6 separate regions of the Homo sapiens genome follow, and regions 2, 3, 4, 5 and 6 are each linked to region 1. The links are contacts of gene promoters, found by promoter capture Hi-C in blood cells and fetal thymus (Javierre and others, 2016). All regions are on one chromosome and are shown on one strand. Each heading gives the region's core, a stretch centred on a gene start or on the middle of the fragment in contact. The rest is flanking DNA. Distances are from core to core; before and after follow the strand shown.

Evidence for each region. Contacts are between HindIII fragments. The CHiCAGO score rates a contact against its expected background, and 5 or more counts as called.
Region 2: a fragment that was not itself captured here is called in contact with the fragment with the promoter of ZNF432 in region 1 in 1 of 17 cell types (non-activated CD4 T cells); the score reaches 7.6 in non-activated CD4 T cells.
Region 3: a contact is called between a fragment that was not itself captured here and the fragment with the promoter of ZNF432 in region 1, in 2 of 17 cell types (activated CD4 T cells and total CD4 T cells). The highest score is 6.9, in activated CD4 T cells.
Region 4: a contact is called between a fragment that was not itself captured here and the fragment with the promoter of ZNF432 in region 1, in 6 of 17 cell types (non-activated CD4 T cells, total B cells, total CD4 T cells and 3 more). The highest score is 17.0, in non-activated CD4 T cells.
Region 5: a contact is called between the fragment with the promoter of ZNF571 here and the fragment with the promoter of ZNF432 in region 1, in 3 of 17 cell types (non-activated CD4 T cells, total CD4 T cells and naive CD8 T cells). The highest score is 7.7, in non-activated CD4 T cells.
Region 6: the fragment with the promoter of ZNF607 here is called in contact with the fragment with the promoter of ZNF432 in region 1 in 2 of 17 cell types (total CD4 T cells and activated CD4 T cells); the score reaches 7.4 in total CD4 T cells.

Annotation. Positions count from the first base shown.
Region 1 is chr19:52,045,883-52,050,774 of GRCh38, reverse strand. It overlaps ZNF432 (zinc finger protein 432), which reads left to right and starts at 1,937. Exons shown (of 5, transcript NM_014650.4): 1 at 1,937-2,080; 2 at 3,715-3,921. The coding sequence starts at 3,907. RefSeq lists an enhancer at 1,565-2,154. The HindIII fragment of the contact is 4,326 bases long and covers 1,337-4,892 here.
Region 2 is chr19:37,453,603-37,458,494 of GRCh38, reverse strand. The region is part of intron 2 of ZNF569 (zinc finger protein 569); the gene reads left to right. Among named protein-coding and RNA genes, the nearest start is that of ZNF569, 11 kb to the left of the region's middle. The HindIII fragment of the contact is 609 bases long and covers 1,928-2,536 here.
Region 3 is chr19:37,474,354-37,479,245 of GRCh38, reverse strand. ZNF570 (zinc finger protein 570) reads right to left here. Exons shown (of 5, transcript NM_144694.5): 3 at 3,239-3,365; 4 at 2,812-2,907. Among named protein-coding and RNA genes, the nearest start is that of ZNF570, 7.4 kb to the right of the region's middle. The HindIII fragment of the contact is 1,736 bases long and covers 1,328-3,063 here.
Region 4 is chr19:37,502,736-37,507,627 of GRCh38, reverse strand. It overlaps ZNF793-AS1 (ZNF793 antisense RNA 1), which reads left to right and starts at 541. Exons shown (of 3, transcript NR_110723.1): 1 at 541-789; 2 at 1,588-1,782. ZNF793 (zinc finger protein 793) reads right to left here and starts at 689. Exons shown (of 8, transcript NM_001013659.3): 1 at 662-689. RefSeq lists enhancers at 473-622, 188-979, 980-1,771. The HindIII fragment of the contact is 826 bases long and covers 1,549-2,374 here.
Region 5 is chr19:37,591,986-37,596,877 of GRCh38, reverse strand. ZNF571 (zinc finger protein 571) reads left to right here and starts at 2,086. Exons shown (of 4, transcript NM_016536.5): 1 at 2,086-2,137. ZNF540 (zinc finger protein 540) reads right to left here and starts at 2,002. Exons shown (of 5, transcript NM_001172225.3): 1 at 1,783-2,002. RefSeq lists enhancers at 1,525-1,574, 1,805-1,924, 1,965-2,164, 1,761-2,443, 2,395-2,444 and 2 more. The HindIII fragment of the contact is 14,201 bases long and covers 1-4,892 here.
Region 6 is chr19:37,716,804-37,721,695 of GRCh38, reverse strand. ZNF607 (zinc finger protein 607) reads left to right here and starts at 1,935. Exons shown (of 5, transcript NM_032689.5): 1 at 1,935-2,427. RefSeq lists silencers at 2,174-2,283, 2,344-2,433. The HindIII fragment of the contact is 3,190 bases long and covers 1-2,655 here.

The DNA.
Region 1 (4,892 bases), core at 688-3,187:
GAGAAAGGAGATGAAATAGAAGAGAGATTGACTTGGTCCTTCAGGATTGGAATCTGATAGATGGGACACTAGAGGAAGTTTAATGTAATCTTTTTGGCTATCTAGATCTAGTTTTTAGGCCCTGGCTAGAAGCCAGTTAGTTCCTCTTCTAGAATGGCCAATTAAGTCTACAATGCCGGCCACAGTGAGCTTGTGGTATTTAGCTTGCCCTAATCCTATCCCCATATCCTCAGCTTCAAGGTAGCCTTGAAAAGCAACCACCTTTTAACAACAGTAACAGTGAATATCTGCACCCTAGCAGAATATCTGCACTTGAGGAGGTAGAAATGGCTCTGAAAATGGCAGAAATGGCTCTGAAACACCCAAAAGCCTCCATCCCCACAGAATGTTCACTACTAAGCCTGCTTTGCAGCCTGCTGAATAGGTCTATTCTCATAGTATTTCTCTATTTGGCTTGACTTTATTTATGTGAACACTCCTACCCATAGGGCACTTGTCAAAAAACAATCAGCAGCAATTGTTTAACACTAGAGTGTTTAGGGGAGTGACAGTGTGTGTCTGCGTGATAGATGGAAGTAATAAGAGGGCACAGGGGAAAGGGGCCATACGCATAAGATGATGGAACAGAGAGCCTGGAGGGTGGGGTATAGAGAGTGTAGGGGAAGGGAGAAGGCAGACAGGTAAAAGGAAAAAGAATGTTAAGTGTTGTTCAGCCTCAAGACTGACATGATGAAAGTACCTTTATTGTGGTTTTTGTAAATTAGAATGCATGCTTTATTATTAAAAAAAACACAATTGAAAATGTTAAGGACCTTTTCCTCCTTGCTTCTTATAAGAAACCATCATAAGACATAACTTGTAATAATTCTGTAGAAATATACATATATAAAGATATATGTATATATATATTTTAAAATAGTATGTTTTTATTGCAAAATATTCATTAGTGTCATCATATCATAGCCAGATCTACAACCCCAGAGTAATTCCCATGGTTATGTTACATGGCAAAAAGGACTCTGCATTGTAATTAAGTTTATTAATCAGCTGACTTTAGCATTGGGAGATTATTCTGGATTGCCCAAGCACTTAAGAATAGGAGAAACCGGAGAGATGCAGCAGCAATAGTCAGTGGTTTCAAATATGAAAGGGATTTCACATACTATTGTTGGCTTTAAAGATAGGAAGTCGTGGGGGCAAGGAAACTCTCTAAAGGAAATTAATCTGGCAACAACCTAAATAATTCTAGAAAAGGATTCTTTTCCAGAGTCAAGAACAGAGCCAGGTGGTTCTTCTCTTCTAAAGACATTTCCATGGGCCAGTTCCACCGCAAGCTTCTCAGAGAGAATATGTTCTGCCGTACGGACACCGAACGTCCCCTAAGATGGCCGCCCCCATGATGCTCTCCCCTAAGGGCTCTGGCTCCGTTACCTGCAACGCACCGCTCGCTTATTTTTTGTTCTAGTCTCTCTTGCTTCAGTTTTTATACGGCTTCTAAAACGCTTCGCATTTACAATAGTGACTGAGGTGCCCAGAGGTGACTTTAATTTTCCATTGAGCTGAGACGTCACAGCCATCATAACCGCTAAGAAGGGATGCCGCGCCTTTGTGGTAATAATGGGTTCTGGCCTTTGAGAAGTTTGCGCCGTTCACTGTCCCCTGCGAGGAGAAGACTAACTTATTTCTGTTCCGTGTCTGTTCAGAGGACTTTACCCCCACGCCGTGTCTGCCTGTGTGAACTCAAGCCTCTGATAAGCTCTCCATTTTCTGCCAGGGCTGAGGTGTCTGGAAATCGGACAGTTTAAGAGGCCTCCGTCCACCGCGTCTCCCGGCCGCTGTGCCTTCTGTACGTCACGTACTCAAAGATGGCCGCCCCCAGAGCGGCGAGGCGACGCCGGCGCGGACGCGTCTCCTCCTGAGGAAAAGCCGGAAGGCCGCATTCCGCTCTCCATGGAAACGCGGCTGACCGTCTCTGGAGGTTTAGAGGGGGAGGGAGTTGGGCGAGGGGCCCAGAAGTGGAAGAAGTTTAGGGAAGTAAGTTCAGCTTTTAAGAGGTCGCGGCGATTCCAAGGAGAGTCAGGTCAGTGTGTGGGTCAGGGCGTGGAAACGTGGTGGGAGGGAGCTTTCTGAGGGCGTCTGCGTTGTTGGTGGCGCTATATGGTGGAGGTAGCGCGGGGGTTGGGGGAGGCGGGGGCGGGTGTTTCCTTTTGGAGGGGAGCTGGTAGGAGTCCCTGGTGGGTGTCTGTGATAGGATATCTTTGGGGTCCCTCATGGAGGCTCTGGTGGTCAGTGATTAAAGGCCTGAATAGATCAACGACCAAGAGTACTGAGGTCAGGGATTGTGGTCCTCGCGGGTCACTCCCCAGTGGGGCTCAGTGATTGAGAATCGATGGGGTGGCTTTTGTCAACGAATGTGACTTCTGTTTCACATTCTGGATTAATCTGAGGCTTAGTGATTGATGAATCATTAAGGGAATCCAGTGTACGTGTGTGTCTATTCCAGGTTTTCCTATTTTATCTGGCGGGGTGGTGGTCTTTTGTCTAGAGACAAGTGAAAGCCGAAGTCTTTTCACAAGAGCCCTGGCTGGTTTTGTGTGTGTGTGTGTGTGTGTGTGTGTGTGTGTGTGTGTGTGTGTGTGTGTGTGTTGAGCTCAAACTTTGGCTGGAACAGACTTGATGAACGTTAACATTTCCTAAAAGTTTCAGGTCCGAGTACCTCCTCCACAATGAGTTTTCTAATCCTCTGGCTTTCCACAACAACCCATGCTCTTGAACCTGCAGAAAATGAAAGTTTTTTGGGGGTGAAGGGGGGCGGATGAATAGGCTTTCTATTTAACATTATGTTTTTAAATTACTGCGCACAAATTAACAAGAGCCTATTTTTATCCTTCCTCTTGCAAATGTACTGCATATTTTTATGGGTGTTTCAGGTTTTGTATGTTAGTATATAAAGGCGGCTATTTTCCCAGTATTTATATTTTTGAATTGTTTTCTAAATTTGTATTTATAACTCGTATTCCTTTTCTCTGTCTCCCTCTTTTTTTCTATGTGTTTCTTGTTCTTCATATTGAAGTGTGTATATAAACATTTTTTTTTTTTTTTTGAGATGGAGTCTTGCTTTTGTCGCCCAGGCTTGAGTGCAATGGCTGGGCTCACTGCAAACTTCGCCTCCTGCGTTCAAGCCATTCTCCTGCCTCAGTCTCCGAGTAGCTGGGATTACAGGTGCCTGCCACCATGCCTGGCTAATTTTTTCTATTTTTAGTAGAGACAGTGTTTCACCATGTTGACAAGGCTGGTCTCGAACTCCTGACCTCAGGTGATCTGCCCATCTCGGCCTCCCAAAGTGCTGGGATTACAGGTGTAAGCCATCATGCCTGGCCGTATATAAACACTTTTAAATATATATAAAGACTTTTAAAGAGGTGTGAGAGTAACATTGTATAAAGGAAAAAATGTAGTTTCTCACCATCCATATGGCCTGATTTAAAAAACTGATATGAGAATTACCTACTGCTTAGGCATGATGCTATGTGGATTCTCCTTTGTGACCTCCCCTTTCATCTTCATGTTACTTCCACACTTCACCGAAGAAAGGCATTTGGCCTACATTGAGGGTCTTGTGTTTCCTTGGTTTGAGAGAACCAAATAAAGAGACAAATATTCAGGGCCACGTGTTAAGGTGAATGTACCCCTGAAAGTTGTTTTGCTCTTCAGTCCACAGGTCCTGGCTACCCTGGGAAGAGACAAGAAGTAAATGAAGAAAGAGGAAGATTCCAGGACCTAGATATGATTTCTGTGGACACCCTTCACTGGTGACTGAAGTTTCTAAATAGAAATTTAAGGCAGATCCAGAGGAGACAAAGACAGAGTATCCCAGGTGCTGGCCATTTCCCACAACAGAAGAAAATGATCAATGCCCAGGTGACTTTTTCTCTATTTTATTCTCTCCTTTATTCCATAGTGGATTTGTAGAGACCCGTAAGAAATCATTTCAGAATCTAGAGAGAAATAAACTTTAAATCTAACTCCAACATCATGGCAAAGTAAGATCAGGAATATAGTGTTTATGTGATTCCTACAAAATGACTGATGTTGGAAAATAATGCCTGACTAGAAGATCCTTTCCATTACCTTAGCTCTCAGTTTGCATCTGATGTCTCTGACAGCCAGTACAAGAAAGTCACACTAAGTTATACAGTGACTGTGGGGAGAAAGCAGACAGGTTCCTCAGGAGATTATTATTTCATGGCACTTAGATCTCAAGAAAAATTTGCTATTCTTCCCAGAGGTGATATGGTGAACAGTGTTTTGAACTAGCTTTCTAATAAAGGCAGAAGATTTCTTACTGCTGTTTATTACACGGTTCCTCAGAGACTCCTATGGAAATAGACCAGGCAAACTCAGTGGAAACAGTTTTTTTAGGGGACGAAAGCAAGGCCACACACTCAAGTCTTGCGTGTCTGTGTGAGCTTATTTAGGAATAAAATCTAAGTGACCTAGGAAAATGGAAGGTGTGCATAGCTTCCATTTTCCTGAACATGTGGCTGAACTGGCATTAACTGCAGATTTGGCATTAGGGAGTTGTCTGATAAGGTCTTGAGTCGTTGGGTGCCATGTTTGATAACTTCACCTCATCTCAGAATATACAATATCCTTCTGCATTTTCACCTCCAATTCTTGCATACTTATATTGCTTTTATTTTTTGTAATTACATAAATTACTCATGGAATCCAAAGGGAAAAAATTCTTTTTTTTTTTTTTTTTTTGGTTTTTGTTTTTTGAGATGGAATCTCACTCTGTTGCCCAAGCCGGAGTGCAGTGCGTGATCTTGGCTTACTGCAACCTCCACGTCCTGGGTTCAAGGGATTCTTCTGCCTCAGCTTCCTGAGTA
Region 2 (4,892 bases), core at 983-3,482, about 15 Mb after region 1:
ACAAGAAGGTATTGGTCAAAGGCAAGAAGGAACTGATGATCAGCAATCAAGAGATAGTTTTTAGGCATGGAAACGTAATATACAGTAACTGTTAAGGAGCAATGCTTTGTATATTTTAAGAAAGGTATGTAATTATGTATGGCTGGAGTTTACTTTCAAGGAGTGAAAGATGAAGCTAATGAGGTATTCAGAAACAAAATTATAAAAGTTGTCATTGAAGTAATTTAAGGTAATACTCATGTAACAAACAAGCACATGTACCCCTTGAATCTAAAATAAAATACACTTTTTAAAAAGGACTCCATAAAGAATATAAAAATATCAGGCTGGGCATGGTGGCTCAGGCCTATAATCCTAGCACTTTGGGAGGCCAAGGTGGGCAGATCACTTGAGCCCAAGTGTTCAAGACCAGCCTGGGCAACATGGCAAAACCCCATCTTTACCAAAAATATCAAAATTAACCAGGCATGGTTGTGCATGCCTGTGGTCCCAGCTACTTGGGAGGCTGAGATGGGAGAATCACTTGAATCTCGGAGATGAAGCCTGCAGCGAGCCATGCGCTCCTCCAGCTTGGGCAACAGAGCGAGACTCTGTCTCCAAAAAAAAAGAATATAAAAATATCTAAGATTTTCCAGTTTTATTTTGTTTATTCTTTTTTTTAATACTTTAAGTTCTAGGGTACATGTGCACAACATGCAGGTTTGTTACATATGTATACATGTCCCATGTTCGTGTGCTGCACCCATTAACTCGTCATTCACATTAGGTATATCTCCTAATGCTATCCCTCCCCCCTCCCCCAACCCCATGACAGGCCCCAGTGTGTGATGTTCCCCATCCTGTGTCCAAGTGTTCTCATTGTTCAGTTCCCATCCATGAGTGAGAACATGTGGTGTTTGGTTTTCTGTCCTTGCGATAGTTTGCTCAGAATGATGGTTTCCAGCTTCATCCATGTCCCTACAAAGGACATGAACTTATCCTTTTTATGGTTGCATAGTATTCCATGGTTATTTTGTTTATTCTTAAACATTATATACCAATTCCACATTCCATCACTCTCTTTTTCTTTCATATTTCCACATACCTCAGTTTCTCTGTTACCATAAGCCAGTAAATTTTGGGCAAGGGGAAAAAAAGAAGTTTAAACAGGGGAGTGTTACTTAAGATGCATTTTATAAGTATAGAATTCTCGATTAAATCCTCAATTTATTTTAAAATTGGTTTTAAAGGATATTGTTGCGACAACTAGGGAAGTATAGAGATAATATATTTTATTGTACGAATGTTTAATATCTTTGGTGTGATAATGGCATTGTGTTTATGTAGGAGGCTTCTTAGTTTTTGGAGGTACATTCTGAAAGAGTTAACGTGAAGTTTGTGTATATGTTTTTAGAGAAGGAAAGAGAGGTAGAAAAATGTGGCAATGCTGAATATAGATTAAGGGTTTTAGAAGTATTCTTTGTACTGATCTTCCAACATTTTTGTAGTTTGAGTTTTGTGTTTTTTGTTTTTTGTTTTTTTTTTTTTGAGACGGTGTCTCCCTCTGTTGCCCAGGCTGGAGTGCAATGGCGCGATCTAGACTCACTGCAACCTCCGCCTCCTGGGTTCAAGCGATTCTCCTGCCTCAGCCTCCTGAGTAGCTAGGATTACAGGCGCCTGCCACCATGCCCAGCTAATTTTTTGTATTTTTAGGAGAGGTGAGGTTTCACTATGTTGGCGAGGCCAATCTCGAACTCCTGACCTTGTGATCCGCCCACCTCAGCCTCCCAAAGTGCTGGGATTACAGGTGTGAGCCACTGTGCCTGGCCTCGAGTTTTTAAAAGTAATAAATTTTGGAAGAAAATTTCTAGAATGTATACATACAAGTATGTTTAGAGTGAACTAGAGGGAAGGAAAGTAGGAGGCAGTTAAACTGTTTTATGAAGCTTCAACTCCCTGTCTAAAGAAAAAGTTTTCTTAATGGAGAGCTCTGTGACTTAATGTTTAACTAACATAAGTGGGAGCTTCCTTCTCAAACATACGGGCCCTAAGAGAGAAGTAGAAATGTTAAGAGATAAAATATAAGACACTTAGATGATCAGTTTAAGGGATAGATCATCCTATTCTTAGGAATTATACGTAAGAGAAAGTAGAGAAAATGAAAACAAAAACGTGCAAGAAAATTTCCTAGAAGAGAACAATAAATATACGGATTGAAATGACCGTATGTCCGTGATATATACTGACCAAAAGCTCAGTGCGATTAATGAGAAAAACCCACACCAACTATCGGAAACCAATAAGAGAGAAGAAAGGCCAAAAACTTTCTACAGAGGAAAAAAAAAGTTGGAATGATCTAGAAGTAGAATGTCAATGTACAGCAACACTAGAAGTCACTGGAGCCACAAAGTGAAGTCACATTGCTTTAAATTTCTAAGGAAAAACTGTTTTTCTGAGAAGCCTACAGTTAGCCAAATTATTATTTGAGTATGAGAGTAGAATAAAAATGTTTTCAAACATGCCAACCAAATTAAAGAGAAAACAAAGTAAAGAAGCTTTTGAGAAATTAAATTTTTGATTCCTGTAGTTGCAACTGGCTTTGGCAACTTTAGATCCCAGATAGAGCGGTACCCACAGAGTTTAATGCTGTTCTTCCAGCCATCAGTGGGTGCCCTTATATAAGTGGGTCCAGCCCTTATATCCTTCTTTCATGTGTCATTGGCCCTTTTCCCTTGTGATTTAAACATGTGTTGCAAAGTGGTGTGGTAGGACCTGGAATCCGGGGACACATGGAAATAGTGGAGAGAAGACTAGGAAAGAGTTGGGGGTGGGGGAGAAAATACTGTTGTCCACCACAGAGCCATATCCCCAGTCTGTGAGTTAGTTCACGCTAACTAGAGAATTTCTGCCTTGAGAGATGCTGCCAGGTGTAGAGCTTTCAATGAGTTTTAGGTTTTTGGCAAAACGTGGATTCAAGCAAGTGGAGTGTTAAAAAATATATATTATTATGTAGATATGGCAGTTGCTGTAAGCATTTTAACTGTATCAGAGCTCATTTCAGGAGGGAATCATGCATGATAGTCCAGAAACTAAACAAATTGATATGGCTGGAAGTAAGTTCTTTGCAGTGGAAAGAAAAATAACATTTGTTATGAATATAACATTTAGTTTGTGAATTTATTTCTAAAGTATTTCCTCAATTAGCTTAAAGTTGAGTTCCTCCAGTATACTGAATTCCGTCTTTTCTGAGGCCTTACCAATTGCTACTGCTTTGCTTGTAATGCTTTCCCACTCCCACTCCATCCTAGCTAATTTACTTGACTTTAAACTGTTATCCTAATCCTAACTTTATTTGCAAGGTATTTTTGAGCCCCATGACAAAATAAACTGAAGGACTTCTCAAAAGTTTATTGTAATGAGGGGACTTTGGGTTTCTCCTTAGGGATGTAAACAGCTGGAAAGAACTTTGCTTCAATCATTACAACAAGGAAACTACAAACTTCTACCGTACAACAAGGAAATGGACAAACTACAAAATAATTTTTCTAGGACCCTTCAGAGAACTGAGGTCACAGGGCAACCAAGTAATCTTAAATCTGGGGAAAGAAAGATGCCAGCTGAGAGAAACAGGACTCAAGCTTTACTTACCTGGGATGGACTCTGCCAGACACCATATAAGCCAGTAAGAAAATACAGCTATCAAGTTTTTAAACAAATTTTTAAAGTGTGAATGTCAGCTAATGAAAGTGTGAAACCACTGGGGGACTTGCAAAATTAGGGAGGTGGGGGTTGCAGTCTCTTGTAGGCTTTTCCTCTGGGAATCCCAACAGGCACTCATAGGGAAGATGGGAGTGAATCCTGAGAAGCCTTTCCTTGTGGTGTTAGCTGGGGGAGGGCAACAGCAGCCCAAACCCATCTTCCCTATCACTGCATAATGAAGAGCAGCAAAAACAGTTGCCTTAGGAGACTTGTAGAAAGCTATTGCAGTTTAGGAAAGGGACCTGAAAAAAAGTAATATCTCTGGGAGTAGGGGAGGAATATGCTCTAGGACTAGCACTACAGCTGGCAGAGCGGCAAGAGCACTTGTGAAGGCCACATCCCCAAGACTTAGGGATATGGTGTCTGCCTAAGACTGAGGCTTAGTGAGATCATAAGAGAATGCTATCCCTCCGTCTACTCAACCCCCACCAAGATAACAAGAATCAAATAGAAGCAATAGTAGAGTACAGCTAGGAAGCCTGCAAGAGAGATTCTCTCTGGGGAGCAGCACAAATGGAACACCCAAAACTAAGGGAGAAACATGCATTGAGAAAACAACCATGGGAAATCAACCCTTACCTTAAACACAGATATTATTAGAGGATATTATTGAAGCCTGGGGTACACTCAGTGTAACCACAGCAATGACAAACCTCAAACCCTGTCCAGCTATTGAATAGACCAGCATAACCCCCCATGTTAAAAACCTAGCAGAAGAAAAGACATACTCATGTTTAAGTGTAAAAACTTCTTAACCTTCATATCTACTGTACTATCCAAGATGTACAGCCTTCAATGAAGATTATGAGGCATATAAAAAGGCAAGAAGAAAAAGAAAAAACATACTTCAAAGAGACAAAGCAATAATCATAACTGACTTAGTTATGACATAGGTATTGCAACAACCCAACAGGAATTTAAGATAACTATGACTTATATGAAATGGACCTGATGGGTAATTGGAGCAGAGATGGAAGAAAAGTATTTAAATAAATGATGGCTGAGAATTTTCCAAGTTAGTGACACGAAACCATAGGTCCAAGAAGCTCAGAGATAAATACCAAAACAAAATTTTAAAACACATCTACACATATTATATTTAAACTGCTGGAAACTAAAAATAAAAGGAAAATCTTGAAGATAACAAGAAAAAA
Region 3 (4,892 bases), core at 946-3,445, about 15 Mb after region 1:
AACTTCATCTAATAAGTTTGAAAACTTACATCAAAACTAAAAATATTTAGAAAAAAATACCCTAATTGCCTCTAGGAGAAATAGAAAACCTAGAATTTTAGAACATATCAAATTGAATGATTAGTTTAAATTCTTTTAACAATAAAAATTCCAAGCCAAAATGAACAAAGTTCTACCAAACATTCAAAAAACAAATAATTTTTATTTTACACAAATGTTTCTAAAGAAGAAAAAGAGAATTTACGAGACTAATCAACCTTGATTCCGAAATCTGACAAGAAAGGAAAACTGAAGATCAAATTCACTAATAAATACAGATGCAAAACACCCAAACAAAATATTGGCAAACAGCAACTAGCAAAAAGTGGAAAAGATATAAAGATGGGTTTAACTTGGGAATGCAATGTTGGTTCAACATTTGAAAATGTATGTAATTTACCACATTAAGATGTGAAAAACTAAAACCTATTAAGAGGTAAAAATCACCCACAGATGGAGAAAAACATTTGTTAAAACTCAAAAGCTTTCCACAATGAAACTCTAGCAAACAGGAATGAAAGGGTATGTACCAAAACTTTTAAGCATCAAAATTATTAAAAAACAAAATGCTAAAGTATTCTTATTAAGACCGGAAGTGGACAAGAATGCCTGTTATCACTACTTCGATTCATATTATACTGGAGATACGACAAAGGCAACAGAAAAATAAATTAAGGTATAAGAATTGAAAATGAAGAAACTACCATTATTCACAAATATATCTACTCATACATAAAATCCAAACATATTTAAAAATATTATTAACAGGAGAGATTGGCAAGGTTGCTGGATATAAGGCCAATGCATACGAAGTTAATTTCATTTCTATATATGAGCAACAAACAGAAAATATAGATAACATTTAACACAGCAACAAAACTAATATGTTTAATGTTTACAATTTAATCTAACAGAAGATGTGCAAAGCCTTTTTTGGAGAAAATTATAAAACACTGAAAAAAGTGAAAAAACCTAAATAAATGGAGAGCTATACCATGTTAATGAATTTTTAAAATTTCCAGAATTGATTACAGAATAAATAAAATTTGAATCAAAAGTTAAAATTTGAATCAAAAGTTAACAGCATTTTGTTGTTTTCTGATAGAAATTTACAAGTTGACCCTAAACTTTATATTGATGTCCAAAGGGCAAACAAGAAATTCTAAAGAATTTAAACAAGCTGTAGAGATTTTCCCTAGCAGATAATTATCCTTCTAATAAACTATTTTTATTAAGACAGTGTGGTACTGGTATAAGGAAACAGAGATCAATGAAACTGAATAAAGCTTAAAGTCAAACCCATATATAGACTAAAACCTGGTATATTAAGAGGTAACATTCAGAAAAACAGGCAGAGGGAACACTTATTCAAAAAATATCTGGGACCTTTGGTTTTCCATAAGATACAGAAATTAAATTCTTATTTAAAATAATCCTCAAAAATAAGTTCCAATTGGATTATGGACCTACATATAAAAGGACAATCTTTAAAAGACTATTTTCAGATATCTATATGAACTCAGAACATAGAAAGGTTTCTTAAAGTATCAAAAACATAAGCTACAGGCTGGGTGCAGTGGCTCACGTCTGTAATCCCAGCACTTTGGAAGGCTGAGGCTGGCGGATCACCTGAGATCAGGAGTTGGAGACCAGCGTGGCCAACATGGTGAAACCTCGTCTCTACTAAAAATACAAAAAAATTAGCCAGGCGTGGTGGTGGGTGCCTGTAGTTCCAGTTACTGGGGAGGCTGAGGCAGGAGAATCACTTGAACCCAGGAGGCAGAGGTTGCAGTGAGCCGAGATCATGCCACTGTACTCCAGCCTGGGCAACAGAGCGAGACTCTGTCTCAAAAAAAAAAAAAAAAGTTACAAATACACACACACACACACACACACACACACACACACACACACACACGACAACCTCCCCCACAATGAGCACCTTAGGAAAAATCACACATGCAACCTGTTTTTCCTTTTCTCTCGCACCACAACAATAAACACAGAAGGCTTCTGTGACTGAATGTGGGGGTTTCTCTCCACCAACAAGCAAGCAATGAATTCTGCAGTGGGTGTCCTCTACCTCAGCTCTATTTTGATACTGTCTACCTGGAGATAGCATCAGATCCCTCAGGTTGAGGACTCAGTCCCCAAGGCTGCCTACACTTCTGATGCTCTGTAGAGCTCAAAAATTTATAAGAGGCCAGGCACAGTGGTTCATGCCTGTAATGCCAGCACTTTGGAAGGCTGAGGCAGGCAGATCACGTGAGGTCAGGAGTTTGAGACCAGCCTAACATGGAGAAACCCTGTCTCTACTAAAAATACAAAAATTAGCTGGGCGTGGTGGCATGTGCCTGTAATTCCAGCTCCTGGGAAGGCTGAATCAGGAGAATTGCTTGAACCCGGGAGGCGGAGCTTGCAGTGAGCCGAGACTGCACCACTGCACTCCAGCCTGGGTGACAGAGCGAGACTCTGTCACAAAAAAAAAAAAAAAAAAAAAAGTTTATAAGACTACTACAAGATTTTTTAAAGACTGAGAGGCTTATGAAACTGAGAGGGGATGGGACTTGTTAGAAAGGAGATAGGAAAGTAAGAGAAGGGAAATAATTAAAAATAACAAATGTGGGAGAACATCCTAAATGGCCCCAAATTTTTATGAAAACCTAGAACATTTGAGAAGAATTTGGAAGCCTGAAGAGTGAAGAGGTGATACCTTTGAGTCAAGCTGAGCTGTCACGTGCAAAGATTTTTGCCAATTTCCTCTTCACTAACCTGAGCACAAGCCTTTTGTCAGCTCTCTCTTCACCATCCAGGGTGCTTTTCCTTGTTCCAACAATAATATCACACTTGGTTTGGAAAAGCAAAGTCCTGCAAATACGAAAAAAAAAAGTAGAGTTTTGTCATGCTGTGGATATTCCAGAACTCACATTCAATCCTTAGCTCATCAGGGAAAAGGGAGTTTACAGTAAGCAAAAAGAGAAATGTGTAAAGGACATGTATTAGAAGGATAAGGAAGATGAAGCTTCAGGCACAGGCCAAGAATATGTTCACTGCCAAATCCACAAACACTAAGCCATTTGTTTGGCATAGGCAGCAGACATTCAGCCAAATTTTGCAGATATTATCCAAAAATTCACAATAGTGGTAGCAAAGAGCCCCTTTTGAGCAGAAGCTCAGTTTTGCAAGAAGATATCCTTACCCAGTGATACCAAGATCCTGTAGTTCTCTAGCATCACATTACTGTACAGATGTCTTTGAGAAGAATCCAGACAATCCCATTCCTCTTGGGAGAAGTCTACAGCCACATCTCTGAAGGTCACCAACTCCTGAAATGAAATAAATGGAAGAACCTTATCTCTTACCATATTCACCTCATTTCCTCTGCCCTAGGCACACTGGGCTCTCTCTGATATTACATCCTCAAATATGTAACCATGTTATCATATTTGTACTCAGGGCCTTTGTATATCTCAGATTATTCCAGTATAAAATAGCACTGCTTCCACCCCAATTCCCTATTTCCTAACCCTCCTTTATTTTTCTCCACTGCACTTAATTATTTTATTCATTGCCTGTTCTTCACCCTCCTCAACTAAAATTTAAGCTCCATGAGGGCAGAGTATGTTTTGGCTTTGGTCACTGCTTTATCCCCAGGTACAGAATAGAACCTGGCACATGTGAAGTATTCAAATTCTGACTCAGTTGAATTAATCAATGAGTGGTTTGAAGAAAATTTCAAGAAGCTAGAAAGGGATCAAAAACAATACCAGAAAGTATTCACTGTATCTCTGAAAACTGTGCTAGACCAAGCAGAGCAGAGCATCAATTCCATTAAAATTCAAATACTTTAATCCAGAGTTCCCAAAATTTTGTGTAAAGAAATGGGTGTTCTACTCATAATATTGCTTCTGCCTACAGGGGTTAGAGAAAGTTCTTAAAAACTTGACACTGAGCTGGGCTCACGCCTGTAATCCCAGCACTTTGGGAGGCCAAGGCAGGTGGATCACCTGAGTTTAGGAGTTTGAGACCAGCCTGGCCAACATGGTGAAACACTGTCTCTACTAAAAATACAAAAATTAGCCAGGTGTGGTGGCACATGCCTGTAGTCCCAGCTACTCCAGAGGCTGAGGCAGGAGAATCGCTTGAACCCAGGAGGCGGAGGTTGCAGTGAGCCAAGATTGTGCCACTGCATTCCAGCCTGGGCGGCAGGGCGAGACTCCATCTCAAAAAAAAAAAAAACAAAAACAAAACAAAACAAAAAAAACTTAATGCTGCTGTGATGCCACTGGATTCCAGGTTTCTATAATGTGACCACTTGCTGATGAAACAAACATACATTATATGTGTATGTATTAATTTAATTTTTTACAAAATTAAAAGATGTGAACCTGTCAATGCAACCTTTTGCATTTGACACAATTTTGTTACAGTTAAAGAAACTGTCTCTAGGCTGGGTGAGATGGCTCACACCTGTAATCCCAGCACTTGGGAGGCCGAGGCAGGTGGATCACTTGAGGTCAGGAGTTCCAGAACAGCCTGGCCAACATGGTAAAACGCTGTCTCTACTAAAAATACAAAAATTAGCTGGGCATAGTGGTGCGCACCTATAATCCCCGGTACTCAGGAGGCTGAGGCAGGAGAATCGCTTGAATCCGGGAGGCAGAGGTTGCGGTGAGCTGAGATTGGGCCACTGCACTCCAGCCTGGGCAACACAGCAAGACTTTGTCTCAAAAACAAAACAAAACAAAAGAAACTATCTCTACAGAAGCAAAATTCTTCAAGTTCAATGCTCAGTCACCTTTTTTCTTACTTAATTATAGGAAGTAGGTAAATCTCTCCCTCTCTGCTCCTGC
Region 4 (4,892 bases), core at 712-3,211, about 15 Mb after region 1:
TTGACTCTATTCTCCATTCCCTGATCTACAAAAGTCCAATCGTTAATACTCTCCGATCCTCCACCGATGATATGAAGTAAGTCTCAATCACCGATGGCCCAAAACATTTCTCCAAACATTCATCACCACTGACCTCCCTCATTTGAACCCCAAAGTTTCCACAATCACCAATTCCAGTACCCAAACTATTACTGCCCACAGAACTTAGAACCTCCGATCACTGATCCTCTCGGGCTCCGATCATTAACCTTAAAGATCTCTAAACCAGTGTCTGAAAAATCCCAACTGACCCCAGACCCATGAAGACCACTATTACTGACCCCATGCACCCTGAAAATCAAGACATTTCACAGAACTCGCATTTATTGATTCCCACACACTCCCAATCCATCTTCTTCAGAGACCGTGCCACTGACTCCCGCAAACCTCTGTCCGCCACCACTGAGGCCCCGCGAGGCTCAGACGCCGAATCTCTTAACCCTTCAGTTCCCTTGTCATTGACCCTCACGGGCACCCATAGCTGACCCAGTCGGCCACCGTAGTCGGCAGCTCACTATCCTCCACTAGTCCCAGGTTTGACCGTTTCTCAAACCGTGCCTTCCCATTTATGCTGCATCCGCGCCCTGAATCTGAAATTGGTCGTCCTGCCACGCCGCCTCACCGCGGTATAAGGTCGTCCCATCCTGAATGGCCGGTGCGCAGACTCAATTGCGACTTTGAGGCTGTCAGCCGCCACCCGGCAACCTTCCAGTGAACAGGATTCTGGGTTTCTCAAAGCTGTAATTGGAGGTATGATGGCGACGCCCACTTGACTCCTACCTGGGGCGGCCATGTTTAAAACTGTGCCGTAAAACGGATGATTAAGCCCTTTGCTAGACCAAAAGATAAGGCTATTTTAGGACAAGGAGAAGGAAGTGTCCCTGGATCCCTAAACAGAGATGTCGTCTCTGCTCTTAACTCAGCATCTCAGATGCCAAAACCTCCTGTGGCCAACATGGTGGCGCCCAGACATCAAAGCTGAGCTTTCTTTGTCTCCGGCAGCCTGGTAAGATGGCCGCGTACATTTTTACCGCTTCTTACGTGCAATGGGTGCAGCCTCTCCTAGGAGCTCCCCTATGGCAATGTGAAACTCTTTCTGAGCCAGCTCTAGGAGTTAGAGAGCAGCGAAGAGACTCGCTCTTAGGGAGACAGAGACAGCCTAAGGACGGGCGTGACTTCACGGAAAGGGCGGAGCCGCAAGGAAAGGGCGGGGCTGCCGCAGCGGGAAGAGATCAGAGTTCTTAGCGCATAATGGAAAGGAAATGTTGAAAGCAAGGTTTTTACCTAAGGAGGCTTGCCCGAGAAGCCGACCTGAGGAAAGAATGAGTGCAAGCAGTTTATTTGGTAGGTGGGGGATGGAGAAGTGAGACGGGAGCGATGGGAACGAATATACAGTGCATAGGTGAGCAGATTAGCTCTGGATCAATGAGGGCTCAGTCAGCTTGGGACCTCTGGGGGATTGTGTAGAAACCACTTCCAAGTTTTCACAACCACCAGGCCGATGAAGCTTACATATGTCTACACCATCTCTCTTCCTAATTGTTTTAGGGCCACTCCAGAGGTGTTAAAGCTCCAGCACTTCGAGCCTGCCTCGTGGGAAAGTCTTAGGCTGAGTCTGTAGGTGTCTGCAGTTAAGAAGCCAGCGGTCTGCATATGATTGCTCAGGGGTGGTGGCTGGGTCCAACAGCATTCACTACAGGCCTGCCTTGAATACCACCTAGCGCAGTGCTCCGCATATCACAGGTATTGGAACATCTCTAGAAAAGATTGCCTTGTCTTATGAAAATGGCTTTTTAAAAAAATCCTAATTCCAACTGGTCATCCTAGCAACTGATACAATAACTGACCTCAAAATGTTTCCCAATGATTCCTACCTCCTACTATTCACACTCTTATGTAGTTCCCTCCCACATTGTACCAGGGTTGGACTGTGAGACTAATAGAATGCAGTAGCAGTGATAGATGTCACTGCTGAGATTAAATATAATAAATGGCACCTTGAGTTCTGTCTTAAAGGCTGCTGCCCCCACTTTGAGAGAAGTTAGTTGCCATGTCATGAGGATACCGAGACAGCCTATGGAGAGGCCCAGGTAGCAAGGAACTAAGCCCTCCACCCAATAGCCTGGGAGTAGCTGGGGCCTTCCTATAACCAAGTGTATCACCCTTGGAAGCACATCTCCCAGCCCCAGTCAAACCTTGAGATGACAGCAGCCCCTGCCAATAGTTTGACTGCAACTGCGTGAGAGACACAGTCACAAGCACTCAGCTATAGCAGCTCCTATATTCCTCACCCTCAGAAAGTGTGTAAGATACTACATGTTTGTTGTTTTAAGCTTCTGAGTTTAGGGTAATTTGCTATGCATCAGTAGATAACTTCAATGCTGTGTTAAAATGCTACAATTGACATTTCTTCTTTTTTTTTTTTTTTGAGACGGAGTTTCGCTCTTGTTGCCTAGGCTGGAGTGCATTGGTGCAATTTCAGCTCACCGCAACCTCTGCCTCCCGGGTTCAAGCGATTCTCCTGCCTCAGCCTCCTGAGTAGCTGGGATTACAGGCATGCACCACCACGCCAGGCTAATTTTGTATTTTTAGTAGAGACGGGGTTTCTCCATGTTGGTCAGGCTGGTCTCGAACTCCCGACCTCAGGTGATCCGCCTGCCTCGACCTCCCAAAGTGCTGGGACTACAGGTGTGAGCCACCGCGCCCAACCCCATTTCTGAATTCTTTAAATAAAGTTCCTAAAGTTGCGAGATTATTCTGTCAGAGGAGATTATTACCAGTTTCCTCTTCTTCCTTGCGATGGAAAAATTAAAGGCCTATGGCTCTGCTAGATTTTTAAAATTTAACAAAGAGGTCAAGGGTCCTTGCTTCATTTGATTTAATATAAGTGGTTTATATGACAACACTTTGAAGTGATTATAGTAATTAATTTAAAATCACCATTTAGGCTGGGCATGGTAGCTCACACATGTAATTCCAGCACTTTGAGAAGCCAAGGTGGGCAGATCACCTGAGGTCAGGAGTTCAAGACCAACCCGGCCAACATGTTGGAACCCCGTCTCTACTAAAAATACAAAAATTAGCCGGCATGGTGGACGCCTATAATTCCAGCTGCTCGGGAGGCTGAGGTAGGAGAATCACTGAACCCAGGAGGTGGAGGTTTCAGTGGGCCAAGATTGTGCCATTGCACTCCAGCCTGGGTGAGACTCTGTCTCTAAAAAAACAAAAATAATAATATTGAAGTAAAATGAGTATTTATAAAGTGCCTATTAAATGCCTGATTGATCACTGGCCTGCTCACTTCAAGGGCTGTTCTTATTCTAGGATTAGACCAATAAAGCAGCCACAACTGGTAAATTGTCACTCATGAAGGCCGAGGGAAAGACAGCCTTTGAGGGTCTTTTGCTGGGAATTAAACGTTCTGCCTCAAAAACTATACATGTCATTTCCATTCACTAGTCTTTGAGACGTCACATGGCCACCCAGGAGTGTGATAGCAGACATGTAATCCTACCATAATTCTGGGATGGGAAGAGCTGGCGATATTTTGGAATAACATTAAAGACTGCCACAAACATTGTAAAGATAGTGTTATCATCACGCTTCAAAAGAAACTGCAACACGGGGGTGAGGTGACCTGTCCGTAATCATTCAGTGAGTAAATAAAGCAACAAGGATTCAGAGCTGGGTGTTTCTGTGTTATTCAGAAGTAAAGGATCATTAGCATCATTATTAAATTTTACCCAAAATTTATTAGAACCTAAATATATCTCAGCAACTGAATTGGGAAAAAGAAGACTGAGTACTCGAGTAAAAATAGAGGCTACTCAAGGAGCTGACCTCTTGATTGGGGAAGGAGTACACATGGAAAGAGGAAACAGGTAAAAGAAGAGTACACACTGTAGGACTCCAGTCATGAGAAACTCAAGAACAGGCAAAACAGATCTATTGAGTTATAAATCAGAAAGCAGTTGACTCCAGGGGCTATTTTTTTTTTTTTTTTTTTTTTTTCTGAGACAGAGTCTCTACTCTGTCTCCCAGGCTGGAGTGCAGTGGTGAGATCTCCATCTCGGCCCACTGCAACCTCCTTCCAGGTTCAAGTGATTCTCGTGCCTCAGCCTCCCAGGTAGCTGGGATTACAGGCATGCGCCATCACACCCGGCTAATTTTTGTATTTTTAGTAGAGATGGCGTTTCACCATCTTAGCCAGGCTGGTCTCAAACTCCTGACCTCAAGCGATCCGCATGCCTCAGCCTCCCAAAGTGCTGGGATTACAGGCGTAAGCCACTGTGCCTGGCTGGGGCTATGACTTCGAAGATAATTTAGGGGGTGAGGAAAATGTTCTATGTCTTGTTTTATGTGGTAGTTTCATGGGCCTACGTAATTGTCAAAGACTCATCAAAGTGAACACTTATTTGTGTTATTATATGTAAATTATACCTTCATTTTTAAAAGAAAAAGCATACTATTCAGAGTATTGAGTAATGATGTGGGCCAGGGAACAGAGGGAGTGAGAAAAGAAGTAACAGAACTTTATCATAGTCTGCAGAAAGATAGGACCCTGCCAAGGTCATCATTAGCATTTATGGCCTATGACAGTGTGATTCCTCTAGGCAGAGGAATTCGAGAAAGGAGCCTCTAGGCAGACTAGCTCCAAGGCTCTGGGCTAACCCAACCTGCAGTGACCATCAGCTCTCACCTGTTCCAGTGAGCTTATGCCTATAGGTCCAAGCCTTGAACTAAATGTGGTGGCCCTAGACACTGTCATCATTTAAAAGGGTACAGGGCCCCAAATTTGGCCTAAAAGGAGGCACAGCGCTTCCTTGCTCTGGAGCAGAAAGGACCTTACCTGG
Region 5 (4,892 bases), core at 837-3,336, about 14 Mb after region 1:
TTAAGATAATATACGTTAAAGTGGCAAATAGCATTTTATATTTACAACACGGGAACATTGAATAGACTGATAATAACATGTTAAACTGGAGTAAAATAGATGCCCTCACGCCATGTTATACACTGGTGCCACCTTAAAGAGGGTAAATTAGAAATTTATATTAGCAGAATTTAATAATATGAGCCAGATGTTTCAGTAATCCCACTCCTATGACCCTGTCTAAGGAAAATAATTATATATGTTCACTAGGATATATGCAGACAGGTGCAGATAGACTAATTTTAAAATGGAAAAAGCTAGATACAAACATAAATTAGACTTCAATAAAGAACAGGTTAAATAAATTCTAGTGTATCCATATAATAGAAAATAAAGTAGCCATCAGAAATAATATAGATTGGGAGTCTGCAAACTTTTCCTGCAAAGAACCACATAATAAATATTTCAGGCTTTGTGGGCCAGCTGGAGGATCCCTTGAACCCAGGAGTTCGAGACTGCAGTGAGCTATAACTGCACCACTGCACTCCAGCCTGGGTGAGACAGTGAGAGCCTGTCTCTTTAAAACAAACAAATACAGTATCTGCAAAGTGCAATAAAATGATGCACAATAAAATGAGGTATGCCTACATTATCATTAATGTTGACGCGAATATCTTCAAACAAGAGGGAAGAAAGTGCATTTGTCTATAAAAGGGCAACACAACAGATCCTCGAGGTGATGGAAATGATCTATCTTGACTATCAATGTCAACATCCTGGTTGTCATATTATACTACAGTCCTGCAAGATGTTGTCATTGGAGAAGACTAAGTTGAAGATAACACACAATGTCTCTATTATTTCTTACAACCTCATATGAATCTACAATCATCTCAAATTTAAAAAAAAATTTAAGGAAGTTTTAAGAATTTCATTTTCAAATATTTGCTAGATGAATTAAGTTTTTACCCCCTTCAAATCTTGAAGGCAAATTAATGCTCCAGGTTGTACTGTTCAATAGGAAGACTATTAGCCATATATAGCTGTTTACATTTAGATTTATTAAAATTGAACACAATTTAAAAAATTCGTTCCTCAGTCAAACCAGCCACATTTCAATTTCTCAATAGCCATATGTAGCTAGTGGCTACTATATTGGAGAGCACAGATATAAAAAATGGAACTCAGTTTTGCAGAAATTCCTATTAAAAAGCATTGTTCCAAAGCGTTACACGACTGACACCCTCACTTTACAGGTGAGAAAACTGAAGCCAGGAGATATCACTATAATACAGCGCTGCACACAATCGTGCTCATTCTCACCATATTATGCTCACACACTTCTTTCCCCACATTCACTGCCACAGGCGAACTCTCAATGAATCATTCACTACATTTATATAATTTCATGGGAATCTATTTTAAATTCATGACCATGCAAAGAAAAATCAATTTCTTACAGGTTATAAGATACTCAGTCGCAGGCTGAATCTGATTAAACAGACATCAGTCACCCTCAAAGCTATAATCAAACCATTCCCAAGACCCTTCCGCACACAATACTAAATGCGCCACTAATAGCCTCAAGCATAATCTGACGCACATCACACAGGCATGGCCACTACCCACTCTGCACCCACAGAGGACACTCGGACACGCGCGCGCACAGACCCACACACACACGCACACACACACACATGGCCGCAAAGAATGCGTCACACTTCCGAACCCCGTTGAGCAGCAACCCGGTATCGTGGCCACTGCGTCACGGCCAGAGCTGTCAGAGAGAAATCCAGACCTTACCTGACAGCCTTTTGCAGCTCTTCTAGCCCGGGATGACATTCCCCTGAAGGCACCACGGCAAGACTCAACCTCTTTGTGTGAGATTCTCTGGAATTTCTGGGGCGTTACTTGAGTATAATGAAATAGGGTAGGCTCGGACCATAGTAGGGTAAGTCCCACAGTTCGAGCAAGGGAGCCTCAGGGATCGTTCTGTTCTGGAGCGCCGGACCCGATCTTAGCTGCTGGGCCTGCGCAGACACGATCCGGCCGGTTTCCAGTTGTAGACTACATTTCCCGAAGGCCCCCGCGTCGCTGCGCAACGTCGTACACTTACGCTGTTATGTCTTGACGCACGGAGCTTGTCTGCGCCGGCCAGGTGAGTGGGCGGCCTCACCGGGAACCGCTCGCAGCTTTTGGGTTGCTTCATCGAAAAAGTAGTTCTTGTATGGTGCTGGGAATACCGGTGTCCTGGCTGGGGCTCGGTGCTGACAGGAACGGGACGGTGCTCTGGCTAATTACTTATGGAAGTCGGCCTTGCGCTTGCGGAGGGGTGTCGGCACCGTCACTTTGGTTCTGGCAGTGGCGGGGGTGTGGTGCTGCTAGTTGTGTTCCTCCGCACCGAATTTATGAGTGTGCCCCTGGAGCCCCTGCCGCGGACAAAATCGGCACCATAACTTTGGGATAGGGAGGCTAGAAGGAGGCGGGTGTTACTAGTAGTGTTCCTCCGCCCTGGACGTGTGCGTGTGCGCTTGTGCGGCCGCGGGGTGGGCTCACCTGCCGCCTGTTAATGCTCCTAGCGCTTGGCCCCTCCCGGGCCGCAGTACTCCTCGTGTGACACGGACATCATTAAGCCAGCTGAGAATCGTGCGGTTACAGCTGCTGCAGTTTCTTTGCAGAGTAAGAGGCTCTTTTTGAAGTTTCCCTGATGGTGAGGCTTTACCCCTGGAAGTGTCTTAGGAAGAAGACCACTGTTAAAGATGTCCTATTCTAGCTTGACAGCCCTGTGGGGAAGACTAATCCCTTTCTAGAGGTTGGTGTTATCCTAAATTGTTTCGTCTGCTCCGAGAGCTCTGATGTTCTATGATGCTTATTTCTTTTCTCGGTTCTGCGTTTTCCAAGAGAGGCACCCAGAGGAAAAGAATATCGCACTTCTGAAAGTCTTGTGTGAAGTTCCTGTTTTCTTTCTAACCTCAAATTTCTTCCTTTCCGAAACGTTTTCTACCTCCAGCAACATCTTCCTAAGGAAGAACCAGCCATGCTAGTGACTGGTCCTTAGGCACCCCATAAATGATGCTGCGGGGATGGGATCATCAGTTTAGCTCTACTCCCCAGCCACACTACACCTCTCCTTTCCACCCAATGATACAGCAGTCCTTTCTGGTCTAAGATTTTTTTGTTTGTTTGTTTGCTTTTTGAGACGGATTCTCGCTGTGTCGCCCTGGCTGGAGTGCGGTGGTGCGGTCTCGGCTCACTGCAAGCTCCGCCTTCCGGGTTCACGCCATTCTCCTGCCTAAGCCTCCCGAGTAGCTGGGACTACAGGCGCCCGCCACCATGCCCGGCTAATTTTTTGTGTTTTTAGTAGAGACGAGGTTTCACCGTGTTAGCCAGGATGGTCTCGATCTCCTGACCTCGTGATCCACCCGCCTGGGCCTCCCAGAGTGCTGGGATTACAGGCGTGAGCCACCGCGCCTGGCCTGGTCTAAGGTTTTGATGAAAAATAACTGTACTTTCTGGGGGAAATTTGAAGAGTTTTAAAATTTTAACTTTATTGTGGATGTTTTCAAGCAGGCTAAAGAATAATACGAACCCCAACATGTTCAACACCTAGCTGTAATTAAAAACATTTGTAAATACCTTTGTATCAATCCTTCCCCGTTTTTTCCTATAGTATTTCAAAATTGTATTTTATCCTCTTATAAGCATATATTACCAAAAAGGACATTATATTTTAAAATAACCATGATGCTGTTATACCAACATAAAAAAAAAAACTAACAATAAGTTTAAAACAATAAATTTGTTTCTTATGTTGGTGTAACAGCGTGGTGGTTATTTCATAATCTTGTATACCCCCATATTCAGATTTTCCCAATTATTTCAAAGACATATTTTTACAATAGGTGTGTTCAAATCTGGATCCAGATAGAGTCCACACATTGCATTTGGTGGCCAAACCTGTTAAACTTACTTAATGCATGATAGTTTCCCTCCTGTGTTTTGTTTTGGTTTAATTGGTGCTGTTGATTTGTAGAAAAACTAGATCATCTGTCCCGTAGAATATTCTGTATACTGCTTTTAGCTAATTGCTTCTTTGTACTGTCTTATAATTTGTTTTCCGTTCCTTCATATTTCTGTAAACAGGCAGTTAGATCTAGAGGTTTGATGGAATTTGGATCAGATTTTCCCTAAATCACCTTTAATTCATAGTTGGTGCTGTGTACTTCCTATTACATCACATCATGAGGCCCTTACAGTCTGATGTCCCACTTTCAGTGATGTCATATTGATGTGTTTAAATGCTGTCCATTTAATCCTTTCCTTTTTTTCACCTAAAGCATGCATTCTCAATGAGGGTGGAGGATATCACCTTCCAAGTGGGTGAAACTTGGTTTTTGAGAAGGAAGAGGACAAAAACTCATAGGTATTACAATGATCTGTGGTCCTCCAAAGGGCCACAGTACATAAACATATATACAGTATATCTATGGTAATAAAATTTCATGAGAGTGGTGGCTATTAGAGAAAAGTATCTAAAAAGGTTCCTAGGGATATGACCGTGAAAAATTTTAGAAGGATTGAGAAGCACTGACCTAAAGGTTATAACGTCCACTTATGATTGATACCAAGATCCATTCTTTATTTTTTTTTCCTCACTCTGTCGCCCAGGCTGGAGTGTAGTGGTGTGATCTCAGCTCACTGCAGCATCCACCTCCCAGGTTCAAAAGGTTCTTCTGCCTCAACCTCCCGAGTAGCTGGGATTACAGGCATGTGCCACCACACCTGGCTAATTTTTGTATTTTTAGTAGAGACGGGGTTTCACCATGTTGCCCAGGCTGGTCTGCAACTCCTGACCTCGAGTAATCCACCCACCTCAGCTTCCCAAAGTGCTGGGATTACAAGTGTGAGGCACC
Region 6 (4,892 bases), core at 686-3,185, about 14 Mb after region 1:
CTTATTGGATACATAATTTACAAACAATTTTTCTCACTCTTTGGGTAGCTTCTCACATTCTTGGTGGGTTTTGAAGCACAATGTTTTACAATTTATGTCCAATTTCCTTTTTTGATGTTGTTGCTTGTGATTCTGATGTCACGGTTAAGAAACAATTGCTGACTATAAAGTCCAGAAGATTTATGCCTACATTTCCTTCTAAATGTTCTACTGTTTTAAGTCTTACACCTAGGTGTTTGATCCATTTTGAGTTGATTTTGTATATGGTGAGAGGCAGGGAACTCAATTCATTCCTTTCTATGTGCATCTCTAATTCCAGTCTTTTCAACAAAGACTACTCTTCCCTTCCTTAAAATGCCTTGGTATCCTTGTTGAAAATAGTATGTGGAGCCGGGCGCAGTAGCTCATGCCTATAATCCCAGCACTTTGGGAGGCCAAGGCGGGCAGATCATCTGAGGTTGGGAGTTCGAGACCAGCCTGACCAACATGGTAAAACCCTGTCTCTACTAAAAATACAAAATTAGCTGGGCATGGTGATGCATGCCTGTAATTCCAGCTACTCAGGAGGCTGAGGCAGGAAAATCGCTTGAACCTGGGAGGTGGAGGTTGCAGTGAGCCAAGATCGTGCCATTGCACTCCAGCCTGGGCAACTAGAGCAAAACTCCGTCTCAAAAAGAGAAAAAAGAAAAAGAAAATAATATGTGGAGTCAATTTAATCCATTGATCTATGTGTGGTATTTCTGAGAGATTATTCAGGAGATTCAGGAGCAACAAATCCAAGAACTAATTAAGAGAAGAAAAAGTGATCAATAAGTTCTTAAATTGTAACTTTAATAGTTTTTTTTCCTTGACTATTTGTATTTTTGAATGGTGATTTTTTAGTTTTGTTCCTTTTCCTCTTAGGGTATAGACAAATATTTTTTATTTTTAAATTAATTTTACTTATTTATTTTTTGAGACAAGGTCTTGCTCTGTTGCTCAGGCCAGAGTGCGGTGACACCATCATACCTCACTGAAGCCTGAACTTCCGGGCTCAACTGATCCTCCTACCTTTGTCTTTGGAATAGCTGGGCCCACAGGCGTGTGCCACCACACCAGGCTAACTTTCATTTTTGGTAGAGTTTGGGAGGAGGAGAGGGGTGTCTCACTATGTTTCTTAGGCTGGTTTTGAACTTCTGGCCTCAACTGATCCTCCTGCCTTGGCCTCCGAAAATGCTGGGATTAAAGGCGTGAGCCACCGTGCCCAGCCTGTATTCATCAATATTTTATTAAGCCAAAGAAACAGGAAATTCGGACTATTAAATATTTGTCCGTTTTAGCTGTTGTAAATATTTCCCCCAAATTTACTTACCTAAAAATTTTTCTTATTCGTTTTTTACCATTTGGAAATTTTGGATGCTTCTAAATAACTATGAAGATTTACAAAGTATTACATGAAGGATCAAAAAAATTTTTTAAATTTCTTATTTTATCTTCAAGAAGCCTATTCCAGAACAAAAATAATAAAACTATTTAGCAGTTATTTCTTCAGATGATTTTTTAGTCAAATTTTTAGTCAAATATATTCGTGTCCAAAGATGAAGAACATAATGTCATGTATTGAAGAATGTGATGGAACTTCAAACCCTCATATAGGACGTGAGTCCATTTACTTAGCGCTTGACGAGACAAGCTGGGCCTGTCGGGTGGTATTAAAAGTCCCAGTCCCATGTGTTACCAAGGAGGCCGGCTCTACCTCAGGAGCCATGAGGGTTTCGGCGCCCCACCCTGAGGAGCTCACACCCATCCAGCAGGTGATCCCTTCCGAGGCTACCTGGATCAGTTTCTACTCAGACTCGCCTCCTACTGGCCCTAAGAACGCACTAACTCCACCCTAAGCCTCAGGCCAGGGGCCCAGTAGTGGCCGATCTGCGCATGCGCACTCGAGGCAAGGCGGCCACTCCCAGAAGTCTCCGGGGCTCGAGCGGTGGGTGGGAGGCGCGGTCCAAGTGGTCGCTGCCGTATTTCTCGTAGGTTTTTAGGATTCTGGACTCCATTTCTCACCGGTACCTGCGGTCCTGACTGTTCTGGCTTGGACTACATATTACAAAGGCAACGGAGAAAACTTGGACCCCTGGCTCCGGTTCCGGGACCTTTTGGTTCCACCTGAAGAAGGCGGCGCAGGTCACTGCGGGAGCCTCTGCAGCCCCAGCCCGCCGCCCGCGTGGTACCCTGCGTGGCGGTGAGAGTGGGGCTGCAGGAGGCGCTCAGAGCGCGGAGGCCCCCAGGCGGGCCGGGCGAGTCTCCCGCCTCCTCAGGCCCTAGGGTGCTGGAGCTGCGGAGGAGGGGCCCGTCTCTAGGAGACAGGCGGGGAGCGTGAGAGACCGCGCAGCGGCGACAGGACCGGCTTGCCTGTGTGACGTGGGTGCAGTTGCGGGACTGTGAGGGGTGCGTAGTCGACCTTGTGTGACCTGTACATGCCGTGTGTGTCCTTTGTAAAGCGTGCTTCGCTGGGCTCTGTGGGGTCTATTGACCCTTGGCTCCAGGTTCCCTGCTGCTTCCTGTGCCTTCCTCAGCCTAGTACGACTACAACAGAGAAATGGTCCCAATGGGAAATCAGATACTGAGTCTTAGATGAAGATTTCCAGTGAGAAGAAACAGATAGGATGAGAAGCTTAGAAGAGTAATTGCCCTTAAGAAAGGTATGATAGATTCTGTTAAATAAAAAAGTATTCAGTGACACTTGTTAAAGCATGCAAAGAACCCTTTATTCAGGACCATGGTGGTAGGTATTGGGATCCCGGCTGTGAGATTTTGCAGTGGGTAACAGACATTGGGCTCAACTCCGAATTCAGCATGAACAAGTGGGAATTTATAGCCAAGAAGGTTAGGGATCACTGGATGAGAAATTACTAAGAGGAAATGTCTGGGTTAAGGAAGATTCTGACTAAACGCACCTAACAGGATTATTTCTGGAGAGAGAGACCTGGGGGACGGTGGAGGATGAAGATACGGAGGCGAAAGGGTCTTGCTAAACTGACTTAGAATAGTTCTTTGCTATAGCCAGATTTTACAGTGAAGTGTACAGATGGGCCTAGCTGAAGGTGTAGTAGCCTGACTAAAATTTGGTCTGGCAGGGTTTGTCAGTTTCGAGTGTAGGATTCCCTCCTGAAAAGGGTTGTTACTCCGCCCCCACCTCCCGGTTCTTGGAGTTTCATTTACATGTTTAACAAACACGGCCTTGAATTCTGACCCCAAGAACCTGCAGTGAAGGATGATTGCAGGTTCCATCCAACATACTTCCTTCTGGTCGTGTGTATGAAATTACGCGCCTGCAGCCTTGGAGGGGGGAAACATAAGCGCTAAGTATTATGAGGCAATTTTGGATATTCCGTTTTGGATTTCTGTAGATCAAAAGCAACAAGAATATGAACTTAGCCGTGATGTGAAGGAAGTGAGCCAGAATTTAAGTTTTCCAAAATAGGAATTCTCGGTCATTGGTGTACTGTCTGTAGACCAATGCCCTTATGGGCATAAGGGACATCACAAACCCCCTGAAATTCTATAAAGAATTCCTGTACATGTTTGTTAATTTGCATTTTTCTAGGATGTCCATAATCCAAATTATTTAGACTCAGGTTTTAGATCTGGAATCAAAGAGTTTTATACCTTTGAATGGTTTTGCAGAAAACTAATGAACGAGATTATGGGAATGGTTAAGAAAATTATACAGCGTCCAAGGGATTGGATATTATACAAATAATAAGATTTATGTTTGTAAAGAATCTGTCACAGGATAAATAGCTGTGATCTAATGTTTAACACTATTTAGAGTTACAGTGGTGGATCACAGTTCTCAAACTATATATGCAACTCTTTTTCTTTCTTTTTTTTTTTTTTTTTTTTTTTTGAGACTGAGTTCCGCTCTTGTTGCCCAGGCTGGAGTGCAATGGTGCGATCTCTGCTCACTGCAACCTCCGCCTCCCGGGTTCAAGCGATTCTCCTGCCTCAGCCACCTGAGTAGCTGAGATTACAAGCATGGGCCACCATGCCTGGCTATTTTTTTTTTTTTTTTGTATTTTTAGTAGAGACGGGGTTTCTCCATGTGGGTCAGGCTGGTCTTGAACTCCCAACCTCAGGTGATCCACCCACCTTGGCCTCCCAAAGTGTTGGGATTACAGGCGTGAGCCACCACGCCCAGCCGCAGCTCATTTTTTAAAAATGGAATTTTGGGCCTGGCACAGTGGCTTCCGCCTGTAATCCCAGCACTTTGGGAGGCCGAGGCGGGCAGATCATGAGGTCAGGAGATTGAGACCATCCTGGCTAACATGGTGAAACCCCGTCTCTACTAAAAATACAAAAAATTAGCCGGGCGTGGTGGTGGGCGCCTGTAGTCCCAGCTAGTCGGGAGACTGAGGCAGGAGAATGGTGTGAACCTGGGAGGCGGACCTTGCAGTGAGCCGAGATCGAGCCACTGCACGCCAGCCTGGGCGACAGCGCGAGACTCCGTCTCAAAAAAATAAAATTTAAAATTAAAATTAAACAAAGGGAATTTTGCAAAAACTTTTGCAAGGATTGTATCCAAAATGATTATTTAATTGGTTTTTCAGAGAGGAATGAAAGGGTTGTGGCTACATTTACTGAGCATATAATGTGTGCCCCAAATTATTGGACCTATTTTGTGTACCTGTTCCCATTAGATGTGCAGAAGCCATTTCCCTGTCCACTAAGGAAAGAATCTTTATAGTGAATTGTTTCTAGTTATGTAGAAGAAACACAGCTAAAGGCTGTTCAAGAAGACAAAGAGTTACATGTTTTAGTCACGCTGATTTTTCATTCTAGGCCTAATATTTAGATTTCTTTTAATGACACATGTACCCTCTCCCCATAAGGATACTTTTAGAAATAGTTTA